2 separate regions of the Homo sapiens genome follow, and region 1 is linked to region 2. The links are contacts of gene promoters, found by promoter capture Hi-C in human tissues and cell types (Jung and others, 2019). All regions are on one chromosome and are shown on one strand. Each heading gives the region's core, a stretch centred on a gene start or on the middle of the fragment in contact. The rest is flanking DNA. Distances are from core to core; before and after follow the strand shown. Region 1 overlaps LOC107984341 (a long non-coding RNA gene). Region 2 holds the start of SSH3 (slingshot protein phosphatase 3).

Region 1 (3,051 bases), core at 174-2,673, 190 kb after region 2:
CTTATTCCTCGATTCTCTTCCCCCTCCCTTTTTTTTTTTTTTTTTTTTTTGAGACAGTCTCACCGTGTCACCCAGCCTGGAGTGCAATGGCATGATCTTGGCTCGCTGCAACCTCCACCTCCCGGGTACAAGCAATTCTCCTGCCTCAGCTTCCTGAGAAGTTGGGATTACAAGCACCCGCCACCATGCCTGGCTAATTTTTGTGTTTTTAGTAGAGACAGGGTTTCACCATGTTGGCCAGGCTGGTCTCAAACTCCCTGTCTCAGGTGATCCGCCCCCCTCTGCCTCCCAAAGTGCTGGGATAACAGGCATGAGCCACCACACCCGGCCCTCTTCCCTATCCTAACTCCTGGTTTCTCTCCCCGACCCCCGACCCTGGTGTCTCCGCTTTCTATTCTTCCCTCTTCCCTGACTCCAGCTGCCTCTTTCTCCTCATCACCTGCCTCCTGAAGTCTCTTTCTTTCCAGCCTTCTCTCCATCATTTGGCCCACCCCCTCCTCCATGTTCATCTCACTCTCCTGGCCCAGTATCATCTGACTGAATGGCTTTCCCACTTTCCTTTACCATCCATTTGTTGCCCTTAATCACCTCAATCCCGTGCTCTCTGATTTTGTTACTTAACCATTTCCTGAACATCTCCCTCCACCCGCACCCCCCACCCCGGGAAAAAAGAAAAAAAGAAAGAAAACTTCTTCTAGGGTTAAAGGGTGTTGGGGGGTGATTATAAGCTTTAAGTGATAGAAAGTTTTCTTTTTTTTCTTTTTTTGAGTTGGAGTCTCGCTCTGTTGCCCAGGCTAGAGTGCAGTGGCGCGATCTCAGCTCACTGCAAACTCCACCTCCTGGGTTCAAGCGATTCACCTGTCTCAGCCTCCTGAGTAGCTGGAATTACAGGTGCCCGCCACCGTGCCTGGCTAATTTTTGTATTTTTAGTAGAGACGGGGTTTCACCATGTTGGCCAGGCTGGTCTCGAATTCCTGACCTGGTGATCCACCCACCTCCGCCTCCCAAAGTGCTGGGATTACAGCCGTGAGCCACCACGCCCAGCTGAAAGTTTTCTTTCTTTTTTCTTTTCTTTTCTTTTTTTTTTTTTTTTGAGTTTGGAACCTGAATTGATCAGGGGGAAAAAAATGAAGCAGAAATGCCCTGCAGATTCTTGGATCATCAAACATGGGTGTCACATGAGGTTCTTGCATGGAATGTGGCTGACGCTTTCCTTGGGACCATGGGACCACCACCCTCCCTGGCCCCATGCTTCCTTGCTGCCATCTTTTCCAGGTATGTCACCTTCCGCTGTGCAGACCCACTGCTCCTGAGCGCTGGGGTGTACTTTGGCTGTTGGGGCAACTGCAGCAGTGTCTGGGCCCCACCTGCTCTTTAGCAGCCTTAGCTTCGCTTTGGGGCCAGGCCACCCTCATTTCTCACTTCTAAAAGGGTGGGACTTCCTGCTGTGCCCGAGAGTGGAGCTCTAAGATGCAGAGCCTGTGCCTCAGCTACACCTGTGCTTGCTGGGGGAAGTTTCTGGCACCCTGGGGTTTCAGGGTCTGTTTGCAACCTTGCACTAGATTCCCAGCTTGGGTTGGTGGTGACAGTCATACAGGGCTCCAGCCACTTCCCCAAAGGGCCAAATGCTTAAGCACTTAGACCTGTTTAGCCCCTCCCAATGAGTCTGATCTTTTTTTATCTTCTTCAAGGGCATTCGCTACCTTTCATCAGTTTCTGCTAAAGCTGGTGTTCCTTCAGCCACTTTGTGAGAGGTTCTGAACCCGTCAGAACTTCAGTTCTCTTTAATAAAACAGAGTAGGCTGGGCGCGGTGGCTTAAGCCTGTAATCCCAGCACTTTGGGAGACCAAGGCGGGCAGATCACCTGAGGTCAGGAGTTCAAGACCAGCCTGGGCAACATTGTGAAACCCTATCTCTACTAAAAATACAAAAATTAGCTGGGCGCGGTGGCACATGCCTGTATTCCCAGCTACTCGGGAGGCTGAGGTAGGAGAATCACTTAAGCCTGGGAGGCAGGCGGAGGTTGCAGTGAGCCCGAGATCGTGCCACTGCACTCTAGCCTGGGCAACAGAGCAAGACTCTGTCTCAAAAAAATATATATTATATATAATATATGTATATAAATATATATAATATATATAAAACATAATACATGTATATAAATATATATAATATATATAAAACATATATTTAAAACATATATATTTTATATATATAATGTATATAAATAAAACAGAAGTAGTGACTCCTGCCCTGTTTCCTCCTAGGATTGTTGTGGAGTGAAATGGACTAATGGACATGAATACCCTTTGGAAACTAGAAGACAACTTATTTTAGAAAGGATTTCTGAGGTCTTGCACAGTGCCTCATGCCTGTAATCCCAGCACTTTGGGAGGCCAAGGTGGGCAGATCACCTGAGGTTGGGAGTTCGAGACCAGCCTGACCAACATGGAGAAACCCCATGTCTACTAAAAATACAAAATTAGCTGGGCATGGTGGCACATGCCTGTAATCACAGCTACTTGGGAGGCTGAGACAGGAGAATCACTTGAACCCGGGAGGCAGAGGTTGCAGTGACCCGAAATCGCGCTTTTGCACTCCAGCCTGGACAACAAGAGTGAAACTCCATCTCAAAAAAAAAAAGAAAAAAAAAGGATTTCTGGTTTTCCTATTTTTAAAAAATTTTTTACTTGGTAATTTTTTTTTTCATAGAAACAGGGTCTCACTATGTTCCCCAGGCTGGTCTCGAACTCCTGGCCTCATGTGATACTCCTGCCTTGACCTCCCAAAGTGCCTGGGATTACAGGCATGAGCCACTGCACCTGGCCAGTTCTCCTATTTTAAATTTATTTTTATTTTATTGTGGTAAGAACACTTGATGTGAGATTTACCATTTTAACAAAGTTTTAAGTGTACAATGCATTGTCCAGTTTCTTTTTCTCCTACATGTAGGATTTGGGTACTTACTGAGTACACTGTGCCCAATGCTAAATTAAGTGCTTGGATAGAGAAAGGAGATTTGAAAAGTTAGAAGGCTTGACTTTTACCTTC
Region 2 (3,158 bases), core at 103-2,602:
CTCACTCGGGGCCTTCTCTGTTGGCTCAGAACTGGCCTCTGCTGCATCATCATTGTCCCCTCCATCCTGCAGTCCCAGGACAGCCCCACGGAGCACCGCAAAGCTCTGCCTGGCAGGGCAGTGGGCAACTGTCATGGCTCCTCATTCCCCTTAGGGTAGGGGCTCTCAAAGTCTAGCATGCATCACATTCACCTGCAGCCCTTGTCTACACGGATTCATGGGCCCCCACGCGGTCGATAGGTCTAGAGTGGAGGCCTGAGCATCTGCATTTCTAACCCCTCGGCCCCTTGGCAATATTGCTGAGAACCAGTCTTGGGGGCTTCCAAGCTCTCAGCCCCTCTACTCTAGCTCATCTGTGGGGAGAGGGGGCTGCTCCTTTTCCCCTCCCACCTGTTTAACTCAAGTGCTGCTGGGAACATGGTCGGGGACCCAGGAGTCCTCAGGCCCATCATGCCCTCCTGCCGTTCGGCCCGTGGCCACCACCTGAGCCAAAGCCCAGGGCAGTGGATGAGGAAGCCCCAGCTGACCAGGGGGAGGGTGAAGGCAAAGGCCGCCCTACCGCGAGCCCACCAGCCGGCCCCACCGGGAACGCTGCCCCACAAATTTGGCAGTGGGCTTCGCTGCGCGTCCTCCGGGGAGCTTTCTGTCCCTGCAGCTGGAGCCCAGGACGGCCGTGGCCAGGCCCGGGGCAGACGGAAGTGTCTGCGTGGGGGAGGTGGCGCTCACCTTCGCTGGAGTCGACTCCTTCGCTGGACCGCCTGGTCCTGCGGAGAGAGCAGCCCCAGGGCAGGGTGAGGGCGGGGAGGGCTGTCCCCTCCCCTCTCTCAGGAATTCTAGAGTTGGGGGAGGCCAGAAAAGGCGCCAGATGCCAATCGTCTTCCCACCCCAGTCCACGCCCCACCGGGAGGCCCCGTGGAGCCCCGGCCCAAGGCCAGGTCGGCTGGGTGGGCGCCGAGTGTGGCGGGGGGCGCGCTCAGATCGGGGCCTCCGCAGCCCGGGCGGCGCGCAGGGCTCTGGATTGTGCCCCGGCGCCAGTACCAGAGACCCTCGAGGCCCCCAGCGCCCTCCAGCCCGAGCCCCGGGGCCCCCTCCTCATGTCCCCGTTCGAGAGGAGCCCGCTGGCGGGCAGGACGCGCTCCCAAGCCGGGGCAGCAACTGCGTGGGCGGCACCACGGCCGGACCACACTCACCCAGGGCCCCACGGGCGTGGAGGCGCCGCTGCCCGGGGGCGAACGGCTCACTGTGACCAGGGCCATGGAGCCAGGCCGCGAGCACCTGGGCTGGCACCGGGCACGGCCCCTTCCCTCAACCCCGCGGACAGTCCTGGACCCGCAGGACCAGGAAGGACGGACGGCGCCACCCGGGCCTGGCACCTCCTCGGGGGCGGCCCTTAAAGGGCCAGACACTCGCCCAGCCGGGCCCGCGGAGCTTCTCAGGGCGGCCGGGCCCCGCCCCTCCGGTCTCCGCTGTTCGGCCCGCCCAGCCCCTGGGCACAGGTCAGGGGCGAGGCCGGGGGCGGGCGCAGGTGCGGAGCCCGGAGACCCGGAGGGCAAGAGCTGAAGGCCGGGAGTTTGGTCCCCCTCCCAGGAAGCGCCCGGCCCGGGCCGGCCCAGCGGGAGCACCTGAGCTGTTCTGGGCCTCCAGCGTCCTGTGCCCTGCAGAGGCGGGTCCTAGGGAGGCAGAGCTGAGGTGGGGAGGTGGGGGACAGGTCTAGAGAGGATCAGGCACGGCGCGCCCTCGGCCAAGGGCCCCCACCCCAAACATTTCTCCCTGCTGGTCGGCCTTCTCGTTCCCACTCCGCAGGAACCACTGGAAGACAGGCTTCCGGGGAAAACGGCCTGGGGTTTACAAATAACCCAGGAAGCCCATGAGGGGCTCTCAGGTCCACCTCGGAGGCGAGCAGGGCAGGGCTTCCAGCTACGCAGGCGGAAGTGACTTGCGCAAACCCACCCGCAGAGAACAAGCCGCAGTCAGGGCCAGGGCCTGGGCTTGGCTGCAGGGGTCGGCGTCGGGGCTCTTCCCAGCTGGAGGTGAATGGTGCCTGGGGACCCAGGCTTTTCCTCCCCAGCAGGCACGTGGGCCGGTTTCCAGAAGACTAGGCTGGGTGGCAGGACGAACCGGGTCCCCAGCAGGTGGGACAGGGCACAGGGGATCTGACTTTCACAGGACGCCTGCTTGGTAAGGACACGTGACTCTCGCCAGCTCCTTTCAGCCCTGAGGGGCGGAGGGTGGGGGGTGGTCTCCTCATTTTACAACTGAAGAAACTGAGGCTCAGATAGGCTAAGGGGACCATGACCAGGATTCAAGCCCAGGTCTGAGGCCGCCATCCACAGTGCCTCTCCACAGCGCCCCACCTTCAGGGTCCCCACCGCTCCAGCCCAGTGAGCAGAGCAGCCCTGCTGCGACAGTCTCTTTATTTCCATCTCAGTCTCCCCTGCCTGCTCATTCCTGGGGCTCCAGGCCCCAAGCTCAGCAGCAGAGAGTTTATAAATAAATAAATTACAAAAGCGGGCAGGGAGTGGCCTGGCCAGCCCTCCCGGGGCTATGGCTCAGTGCTCAGTGAGTGACAGCTGCAGGATCCGCTGTAAGTCCTCCTCCTCCTGCTGCCCGCGCCGCTCCCGCTCCTCCTGCTCCCGTGAAGACAACTCCAGGGCCAGGCGCAGCTGCTCTTCAAAGCTGGGTGGACCGGGGGCTGGGGGTGTCCTGGGAGGGGATCCTGGGCCCCTGGGCTCTGTGGACAGCTGCAGGCTTTCCTGGAGGGCCCTTCCAGGCAGGGCAGGGGAGGGAAGAACAGGCCAGTGAGCGCCAAGGCTGGGGCAGAAGCCGAGGGGCTGGGGACCGGCTTTGGAGGACAAAGGCAAAGACAGGGTGGCAAGCAGAGGAGACAAGGCAGGGCCCTGCTTCCCCACCCCTCACACCACCTTTGGTGGCAGATAGCGCTGCTGACAGAGGGTGGCCTTGCAGAGGGCCTGGGGTCCTAGCACCTTCCTGCTATCCCCCTCCCCGCCAAGCCAGGGCTGGGGGGACAGGGACCCAGCCAGCCCCATGAGGGGCTCACCGCTCCAGCTGAAGCTGTTCCTCATAAACCGTGGCCTGGGGAGGAGGGCGGGCACCGGGCCGGGTGTTGGTCAGGGCTTCCCAGACGGTCACCTGCAGCC

What was found. Contacts are between HindIII fragments. The study calls those that stand out against the background at their distance.
Region 1: a fragment that was not itself captured here is called in contact with the fragment with the promoter of SSH3 in region 2 in 3 of the 25 tissues and cell types used here (IMR-90 fibroblasts, dorsolateral prefrontal cortex and lymphoblastoid cells).

The regions. Positions count from the first base shown.
Region 1 is chr11:67,111,872-67,114,922 of GRCh38, reverse strand. It overlaps LOC107984341 (a long non-coding RNA gene), which reads left to right. Exons shown (of 2, transcript NR_160735.1): 2 at 2,268-2,631. Among named protein-coding and RNA genes, the nearest start is that of KDM2A, 5.9 kb to the left of the region's middle. The HindIII fragment of the contact is 5,381 bases long and covers 1-3,051 here.
Region 2 is chr11:67,301,724-67,304,881 of GRCh38, reverse strand. SSH3 (slingshot protein phosphatase 3) reads right to left here and starts at 1,352. Exons shown (of 14, transcript NM_017857.4): 1 at 1,191-1,352; 2 at 727-764; 3 at 1-109. The coding sequence starts at 1,256. ANKRD13D (ankyrin repeat domain 13D) reads right to left here. Exons shown (of 15, transcript NM_207354.3): 14 at 3,059-3,150; 15 at 2,398-2,763. The coding sequence ends at 2,550. RefSeq lists enhancers at 1,165-1,684, 1,685-2,202. The HindIII fragment of the contact is 10,588 bases long and covers 1-3,158 here.